Regions from separate parts of the Homo sapiens genome. Here region 2 is linked to region 1. The links are contacts of gene promoters, found by promoter capture Hi-C in blood cells and fetal thymus (Javierre and others, 2016). All regions are on one chromosome and are shown on one strand. The core of a region is centred on a gene start or on the middle of the fragment in contact, and the rest is flanking DNA. Distances in the headings are between cores, read along the strand shown.

What was found. The method cuts DNA at HindIII sites, captures the fragments that hold promoters and counts their contacts. A CHiCAGO score of 5 or more calls a contact.
Region 2: the fragment with the promoter of UGT1A1 here is called in contact with the fragment with the promoter of UGT1A6 in region 1 in 1 of 17 cell types (neutrophils); the score reaches 8.2 in neutrophils.

Annotation. Positions count from the first base shown.
Region 1 is chr2:233,691,029-233,695,877 of GRCh38, reverse strand. It overlaps UGT1A6 (UDP glucuronosyltransferase family 1 member A6), which reads right to left and starts at 2,988. Exons shown (of 5, transcript NM_001072.4): 1 at 2,013-2,988. The coding sequence starts at 2,873. All of the region lies in intron 1 of UGT1A8 (UDP glucuronosyltransferase family 1 member A8), which reads right to left. All of the region lies in intron 1 of UGT1A10 (UDP glucuronosyltransferase family 1 member A10), which reads right to left. All of the region lies in intron 1 of UGT1A9 (UDP glucuronosyltransferase family 1 member A9), which reads right to left. It also overlaps UGT1A7 and UGT1A. RefSeq lists enhancers at 3,636-4,242, 4,243-4,849. The HindIII fragment of the contact is 26,798 bases long and covers 1-4,849 here.
Region 2 is chr2:233,758,838-233,763,591 of GRCh38, reverse strand. It overlaps UGT1A1 (UDP glucuronosyltransferase family 1 member A1), which reads right to left and starts at 3,322. Exons shown (of 5, transcript NM_000463.3): 1 at 2,441-3,322. The coding sequence starts at 3,304. The region is part of intron 1 of UGT1A8 (UDP glucuronosyltransferase family 1 member A8); the gene reads right to left. All of the region lies in intron 1 of UGT1A10 (UDP glucuronosyltransferase family 1 member A10), which reads right to left. The region is part of intron 1 of UGT1A9 (UDP glucuronosyltransferase family 1 member A9); the gene reads right to left. It also overlaps UGT1A7, UGT1A6, UGT1A5, UGT1A4, UGT1A3 and UGT1A. RefSeq lists a silencer at 3,711-3,885. The HindIII fragment of the contact is 5,043 bases long and covers 222-4,754 here.

The sequences.
Region 1 (4,849 bases), core at 1,739-4,238:
TTCTGCGTTGTTTGTTGTTGAGTGAGAAAACAGGAAAAACCCTTTGAGTTTTTTGTTGGTTTTGTTTTCCACTCACAGATAGTACATATACAGAATGGAAAATTATTCAGCCATAAAAAAGGATGAAGACCTGTCATGTGCAGCAACATAAATGTAACTGGAAGTCATTATGTTAGGTGAAATAATCTAGGCACAGAAAGACAAATACCACATGTTCTCATTTATATGTGGAGCTAAAAAAGTGGGTCTCATGGAGGTAGAGAGTTCATTGGTAATTACCAGAAGGTGGAAAGGGTAAGTAGGGAAGGGGGGGTGAAAATGGTTGGTTAAAATTTAAAAAAGAAAAAGAAAAAAGAAATAAAATTTGTAATACTCCAAAAACTTTGATAGAAAAGAGAAAAACATCTAAAGGGCCAATAAAGCACGTTGATCAAAAAAAAAAGAAGAAGAAGAAGGCCGGGCGCGGTAGCTCACGCCTGTAATCCCAGCACTTTGGGAGGCTGGGGTGGGCGGACCACGAGGTCAAGAGATTGAGACCATCCTGGCCAACGTGGTGAAACCCCGCCTCTACTAAAAATGCAAAAATTAGCTGGGAATGGTGGCACATGCCTATAGTCCCAGCTACTCAGGAGGCTGAGGCAGGAGAATCGCTTGAACCCAGGAGGTGGAGGTTGCAGTGGGCTGAGATCGCACCACTGCACTCCAGCCTGATGACAGAGTGAGACTCTGTCTCAAAAAAAAAAAAAAGAAAAGAAAAGGGTTGGTTAATGGGCACAAAAACACCATTAGATAGAATGAGTAAGTCCAAAGTGCGATAGCACAGTAGGGTGACTATGGTTAACAAGAATGTATACTGCAGTTCAAAATAGCTAGAAATGAAGAATGGGAATGTTCCCAACATAAGGAAGGAATAAATGTTCAAGGTGATGGATATCTCAATTACCCTGATTTGATCATCGCACATTGTATACGTGTATCAAAATATCACATGAACCCCCCAAATGTGTACAACTATATTATGTCCCAATTAAAAGAATCCTGACATTCTATGTTTTTATTTCATGCCCCAGAATCCCTGGAACCATTTCAGTTATCCCCATCCCCTCACCCTTGCCTTTTCACAGTGGCTACTGCCAACTGTTCAAATTGTTAACAGAGAAATCAGCAGGTGTAAAGAAGAGAGGTAAGGGTCTTTGGGACCTGTTTGAGGCTTTCTCTCTGATAAAAAAGGAACTGGAAAAGAAAATTGAGGCATAAAAGATAGAGGGAGTTGCCTGAAGCCCTTCAAAGTTGTAAATATTTACATTGAAATTTAAAACTCACAGATTTTTATTTTCCAAAGTAACTCTGGGCCCTTTTCCTACATGTCAGGAGGGCATCTGTAAACACTTGTCTTAGGTCAGAGGCCATACCCCTTTTGCTGAAAAGGCCAGTCAGTAAATGTGTAGGCTTTGCAGACCAAATACTTCTGTGGCACATATTCTTCATTGTTAAATTGTTTTAAAACTACAAAAACCATTCTTAGCTCTGGGCCATATAAAAACAGGTCTCAACATAAAAGGAAAAAAAAAAACAAAAAACAGGCCTTTGGGCAGATTGGGCTCACAGGCTGTAGTTCGCTGGTCCCTGGCTCAAGGTCCAGAGACAAAGCATGGGACAGAGTTGGGAAAATGGATTTTAACCTGGACCTGTTCCCTTAGTCAAGCCTTCACCTCTGTTTGAACTGGGACATTTCTAAGGCTCATTCAATGAGTATGTGACTGTCCCAGATTATCCAACTAAGCAAATCTCCTACTCTTGCCAAGCATGAGCCCTGTCTTCATCCGAATGCCTCTGTATCACTTCAGCCTCAGGTCTCCTATGTGTTCCCGCTGCTCCGAGCCGGGTATCACTTCCCCCCACCGTTTCTCCAGGAAATCCTCCAAGGGACAGTCGGCTCAAGGAGCCAAATGAGTGAGGGAGGACAGAGCCTGGAAGAAACAAGGCAGTCCAAAAGAAATAAACCCACCAACCTGAGACAAGTCTTTCCTCTTCTTACAGTTGATACCTCCAATGAAGACCATGTTGGGCATGACCGGCCTAGGATATTCAAGCACAAAGTCATATCTTAACAGCCAAACAGAGACCTTCTGATATAAGGTGATTATATCCACATCTCTCTTGAGGACAGCTGATGCGAGTTCTTCATACTTTGAAAACAGACAATAAAATAGATAGGGCTCCAACAAATTAACAAGGAAGTTGGCCACTCGTTGGGAAAAAGTCATGTGGTCTGAAAACTTTGTGTAGCACCTGGGAATGTAGGACACAGGGTCTGGGCTTCTGCTGAATGTATGCTCCAGGGAACACGGAAAACCCCTGAAGAGGTACACAGATGGTAGGCCCAAATACTCAGCCAGGATCACCCCACAGGGTAAGGCTGGGTCTGTGAAAAGAGCATCAAACTTGCTCTCCTTAAAGAAGTTCAGGGTGTCCCTGTCCTGCAGGAGGCTCTGGCAGTTGATGAAGTACAGGCCAATAACAATCATGTTATTCCTGTACTCTGTCTGAGGAGCAGTTAGGAATGATCGCTCAGCAAAGTGATTGTTTCCAAATGATTGGTAACGGTTCTTCAGCTCTTCTTGGTCATACGGCACTGGATAGATTTTTCTTGTGTAGTATTTGGATTCTTTCAAAAGCAAATTAACTTCAGGCACCACCACTACAATCTCATGACCCCGGTCACTGAGAACCTCAACTATATCCTTCATACTAAGCCAGTGGCTTCCGTCCTGAGGGACCACCAGCAGCTTGTCACCTACAACCATGCCCCAAAGTGCTAAGAAGAAAACCCCTGCAGAAATTCTCTGAAATGAGCGAAGGAGGCAGGCCATCCTGGAAAGAGTTAAAGTAACAACGGTAATAAAGAGTTTTCACTCTCCAAATCACAGGGCTCCTAGGTATTTTCCCTAAACTAACCACTGCTTTTCACAGGTCCTGTCTACCTCTCCCTTGCTCTGAATTTTACCCTTTGATATGTAAGAACCCAAATTAATATTTAACCATTTTAATCACATGGTTAATATGAACCAACTATGGCCGTGTCAGCTTTCACCTGAGCTTCTGGGTGTTTCTCTTCAGCTCCACAAGTCTGCTTCTCCCTCTCTGAAAAGTTATAGCAACACTTTGAAGATGACTTGGAGAGACCCCTGAGGACCCCCTGCCAATTCTCTATCCCGAACTTGCTGGATTCCTCATCATTGACGTTGTCTGTTATGTCCATGATGTGCGGGAATTTTTCTTGCACACGGACCTATTCTCTAACACCAGCTGGGTATCCTACAATTCAATTCCATTCTGAACTGAATTCTGAGTTAGCACGGACCCCACAGGTTAAGGGCTCAGTCCTACAAGACTGCCCTCACTTCAGACACCAATTGCAAGTAGTAGGTCCCCAGGTTACCCACAACTTCTGTCTGACTTGGCAAAAATCAGAGGTTCACACACCCTCTTTCTTGGAGTCAATCATTTGCTAGAATGGCTCACAGAACTGAAGAAAACAGTTTATTTACTAGGTTTGGTTTATTACAAAGGATATTGCAAACAATACGGATGAATAGCCAGAGGAAAAAGTACAAAGAACAAGATATGGGGGTATGGCCATGGAGCCCCATCTGCCATCTCTGGGTGCCCCACCCTCCACACCTTCAGCAACCTGAAAGCTCTCTGAACCCTGCCCTTCTGAGTTTTTATGTAGGCTTCCATACATAGTAGGCATGATTGATTAGATTGTTGCCCATCGGTGATCAAATCAATCTTCAATCTCTCTCTCCTTTCTTCCCTCTAATCGCAAGGGTTTTGTTCCCTGGCAACTAGCCCTCATCCTTAGAGACTTTACATCTCCTTTACATAAACTTAGGTGTGATCGAAAGGGATCTGTTTTGAATAACAAAAGATTCTTTGTTCACGTTTATCGCTCCCACCACTTATGGTTTCAGGAGCTGTGTCCAGGAAACAAAGACAAACATATATTTCTTATTATACATCACAATATAACAACATTCAAACTGTTACTTGCCTTTAGGAAATTAAGATTTGAGAAGTATAAGTCTAGCCAGTACGTGGTGAGAATCCTAGAGCAGGAGTCAGAAAGCCTGGTATCTGCTTCTGGCCCAGCCACCCATCTGCCAGGGGAGTGACTCCTCTCCTGAGCTTCAGGTTTCTCAACTGAGGCCCAGAAAGGGAGGGTCACACTGGCCCTGCCTGCTAACCACACTGCTGAGGGCGGTCCCAGAGCAAGACCTGTGTAGAAACTAGGCTGTCCCAGTGAGAGGTGGTACCTTGAATTACTAGAACAGACTTGCCCAGAGCTAGTCATGCACACCTGGCTGGCACGCGAGTTCCTGTTCCCACCCACAAGTTTGGCACCGGAGGTGTTCTGGGGCCCAGGAAGGGAGAAGAAGCCTGAGCAACATGATTAGAGGGGCCACTCCAAGGACAGGGCTGGCCCCCATGGGGAACATAACCAGGATGCAAATTCATTGTTCAAGGCATGCGAAGACTCAGCTCAGTCCAAGCTGGGAGCAGCCTCCCAAGAGGATTGGCAGCTTACAATGATCAAAGTCATGGGGGCGGCAGCATCTTGCTTTGAGTTCATCTAGATAGCAATAAGACTCCAGGAAGGTTGCAAAGGGAACAGAGCTCAGGTCCACCTTCTTGAGCAGGCAGACATTAGGCAGGTTTCCTTCAAAGAACAGTTCATCTAGAGGAAGAATGGCTTAAGCAAGCATGTAGGAATAGCGGGATCAAGAGATGCTACAAACTTCACATTCTTTATACTAGACCTCCACTCTGCTGTGGACGTTGGTCT
Region 2 (4,754 bases), core at 2,073-4,572, 67 kb before region 1:
TTAACAAAGGAAGAAAGAGAAAATAAGAACAGTAACTTGACCAACCAGTAGAAATCCGGAAAAAGGAGAATGGCAAAGTCAACTAAACATAAAGTAAACTGAGAGAGTTACAATCAAATCTATTAATTGTTAGATTCAAATAGGCAAAATGCACTTATTAAAGCAACTGCCTGACTGGATTAAAAATACCAGTGCCATGTTGTTTAAAAAGGAAGAAAGCTTGAAGACAAAGGAGTACTAAAGATGTGCTAGGGAAATGTAAACAAAAATAATACAGAAGTGGTAATATTAATATCCAAAAAGTGGAATTTCAGATTAAAACATGCAACAAGACAAAACAGGTTACTAAAAGGTACAATTTAAAAACATATTTTCACACCTAAGCCTGACTGCACCAAACAAGGCAACAACAAATATGTAGTCAACACAGTTCACCACTTAGACTTTTATGGTTATATCAATAAATGCCAGAAAGGCAGCTGATAAAGTTCGGTGCCTCTCCTACAAACATCCTCACGCAAAGAAGGAAATTATCTAAATCAATAAAGCCTGTTCAGAAAACAATGGCTAACATAATGCAAAATAATGAAATGATAATCAATTTCCACTAAAATAGCAGCAAGACGGGCATCTTTCCTATTGCCAGAATTATTCAACTGTTTTTAGAGATTCTAATAAATTCAATAGCCCTGATATTTGGCATGGAATTTATAAGAGAAGAAACCAAAATTTCTTTATCAGCAAATGACTGCCTATTATTTTTTATTATGAAAATCAATATTTTGATGAGATAGCTGAGTAATGAGTAGATAATCAGCTAGAGATAGAAATGCAAAAAAATAACACATTCACAGTAGTGACCAAAAAAAAAAAACCGTGTAAAATACTTAAGAAAAGATGAATGAGAAAGAAACAGAACAAATGTTTTTTAAACTACAAAATAGCTTATCTTTTTAAAGGAAGTGTTTGAGGTCACAACAACAAAACTCCTGGAATACAAATTGTAATGTTCCTCTGTGGGGAACTAGACTAGATCTCCAGCAGAATACACTGTGGTACACAAGTACCATGAAATACTATTTCATAGTTTAAAAAGTAATAGCATTTAAAACTGGAGTGATATCCATGACATTATCGGTAAGTGGGCAGTGGGAATACACTGTTACTCTATTTTGTAGAAAAAGCAACCAAAAAATTTTACATATGTTTCTATATACATATTGGTATGTAATAGCTGGAGTACAAAGAACTAAAAAGAGCTATTGTGGATTACTCTCGACCCATTAACTAGACCTCGGTTGGCACCTTTCTTCTCATTCATTAATGTAACACATATTCGGTGGGTGCCTATTCTGTGCCTTAGGTGCTGAGATTTATGGGGCGCCAAATACATGCAGACCCATTGGCAGGTGTTGAGGACGCCGCATACAGTGGATGTGATTAATGCAAAGTCACACAGGTCCCCACATGGCTCATGATGTGAAGCGGACAATCAACAACTATCTAAGTGAAATGGCTGCCATATTTGATGTGCTATGAAGGAAAATGCACAGAAAATTAAAAAAAATAAAATACAAATCACATTGGAGGTATAGTGGAAATAAGGTCACCTCCGAAGGTGATATCAGTCCCCTTAATGGGAGCCAGACGCAGCACCTGGGAAGTGCCTGGGCTGCCAGTAGATCCTCAGCCAATCTTTGCAGGATAAGTGAATGAACGCTCTCTGAAATGTCACCTCCTCAAAGAGTAATTCCCTAACGCTCCATCTGAAGGAGCCTCTCCTGTTCTTTTCTATCCTCTGCTGAGATTTCGATGAGGATGTGAATGCTACTTTTTGCATACTTCAAACTCTGTAGGGGAAAAATAAACCTAATAGCTTGAGAATGAAACCTACAACCTTTCTGTATCATGTCAGAACCTGACTGTCTGGTGATTCACTCATTAGAAGAGAACGGACTGCAGGATTTAGCTTCTTATCAGAATATTTAGAAACTGGAGCTTTAACCAGGGTCACAAAGGCAACTTTCATTTCCAGGATCTATCATCATCAAAGAATGATTTCATCAGTCCTGAACATTGCCTGCCTGACTGAATCCAGGGCAAGGTGCAGGCTTCAACTGAGTTTTCTGCAGGGTGCCCCAAACCCAGCATTCTGTGCCTATGGCATTTAACAGCTTGTTGTTTCTAATTGATTACTATCCACTGGAGCACACAGAGTAAAATGTCCAAGGAATGCTTTCCCGAAATCTCAGATACCAAGAAATCATCCAGAAGATGATGCCAAAGACAGACTCAAACCTAGGAGTCAAAAATTAACAAAAGAGGGCATTTTAAATTATCTCAGAATGCTTGCTCAGCATATATCTGGGGCTAGTTAATCGATCCAAAGTAATACATCTGAAAGAATATACGCATGTAAAAGTCCCACTCCAATACACACCTGGGATAGTGGATTTTGGTGAAGGCAGTTGATTCCACCAACAAAAACCATATTGGGCATGATGGGCCTAGGGTAATCCTTCACAAAGTCACTTCTAAACAGCCAGACAGATGCAGAGCTCAATAGGTCCTGGACAGTCACCTCTCTCTGAAGGAATTCTGAGGCAAGGGTTGCATACGGGGAATAAACCACGTCGCACAGAAAGTTCTGTGAAAAGGCAATGAGCATGTTCTTCACCCGCTGCAGGAAGGTCATGTGATCTGAATGAGAGGAGAGAGGCCTGGGCACGTAGGAGAATGGGTTGGGGCACTGGGTAGCCTCAAATTCCAGGCTGCATGGCAGTGCATGCAAGAAGAATACAGTGGGCAGAGACAGGTACTGGGCCACGATGGGGCTGCAAGGAAGGAAAGGGTCCGTCAGCATGACATCAAAGCTGCTTTCTGCCAGGGAGGCCATGAGCTCCTTGTTGTGCAGTAAGTGGGAACAGCCAGACAAAAGCATAGCAGAGTCCTTTTTTATTTTCTTGTATGTTTTGATCACACGCTGCAGGAAAGAATCATTCTCAAAAACATTATGCCCGAGACTAACAAAAGACTCTTTCACATCCTCCCTTTGGAATGGCACAGGGTACGTCTTCAAGGTGTAAAATGCTCCGTCTCTGATGTACAACGAGGCGTCAGGTGCTAGGACAACTATTTCATGTCCCCTCTGCTGCAGCTGCTGGATGGCCCCAAGCATGCTCAGCCAGTGGCTGCCATCCACTGGGATCAACAGTATCTTCCCAGCATGGGACACCACTGGGCCCAGCACACACAGCAGCAGGCCCAGGACAAGTGGGCGTCCGCCCTGGGACTCCACAGCCATGGCGCCTTTGCTCCTGCCAGAGGTTCGCCCTCTCCTACTTATATATATATATATGGCAAAAACCAATCGATACACCAAGTTAATGTTTGACTGTGTCACGTGACTATAAAAAGCTGTCAGTCCACAAAGGTAGCAGGGAGTTCACTTTCAGAGATAAAGAAGGTGGAGCTTTATTAGGTTTCTTAATAGGCAACAACAGTTGAACTGGCTGGAATTTCATACTCAAATCACATTCTTGAGTGAACACAGCAAAGTACTTCCAGAACCTCAGGATCCATTAAATTAGTATTTCCACAGACCAACAAGTGTTACCAGAGAGGAAGAAGGACGACTATGTAGTGAACAAGTTAGGCTTCTTTTCCAGAAATTAAACAGAAGGCTTTTTAGAAAGCCTTTTAGAAAGAAAAGAACACAACTGTACCCCCGCTTTCGCCATGGAAACCTGTAAGAGTGCCCACTCCACAGCTCCCCCGGTACTGCCTGCTCACTTGTATCATGTGTTTCATTCCTTCGTCCAACAATATTTATTGAGTCCAGCACAGTGTGGGGTCTTGAGGCTGCAGCAGAGCCCACCACACGAGCACGCGCCATGAGGTGAGCCAGACTCACAATTTAAACACATGAGCAGGAACTTAGAAATCGTGAAGCATGCTAAGAAGGAAATGAACAGGTGGGTGGGTGGGGCGGGTCGGGGGTGGGGGGCGTGCTGGGGTAGAGAATGACCAGAAAGGGAAATTCACTGGAGCGCATGTGAACAGAAGTCTTCCCCAAGGACAGGCCTTTATTAGTGTGAACCTGAAAGAGCCAGTCCTGTAAGATAGATCTTGAGTGGCTAACTGGGCCTGGATTTAAAATAGAGCCAACTGGCCCTTTGCTTACTACAGGTCACACGGTTACTCTGAGTATCCTGAAAACCTGTACCTTTTTATAGTTGAGATTTTCAGCGCTCACCTGAACCAACCAATTAAAGCTCACCCACCTCAGCCACTCAGGGCTCAGCTTCATCAACCAATCAGAATGCAGCTGCAGTGACCAATAAGAACTAAGCAAGTTTCCATCCTTCATTTGCATAAATGGACCTGATTGGGAACCTGGGAAGGAACTTTTTGCCGTGAAACCTGCCTGCCTTGTGTTCTGTGGAACTCACCTTCATTGCGTACCAGAGGCTGTAACTCCCTGGTTTGCAAACTGTTCACTAGAACAAAGTCTCTTTCTTCCAAATTCCTTTTCAGAGAACTTTTGTTCACAACAGGAAACCAAATAGATAAGCAAATTCAATTAAGTTAAATTGTACTCATTCCACTGGCCCAAGATCCAGGGGAAAGGCATTTGGGGAAATTCTGATGACTGATTTGAAGTCAAAAGGGAAAGATGAGCAAAAACAACTCAAATTTGTATTTATTGACCATGGACTATGGGGCAAGTATTGTGCAGCCAGAATTGGAAGTAT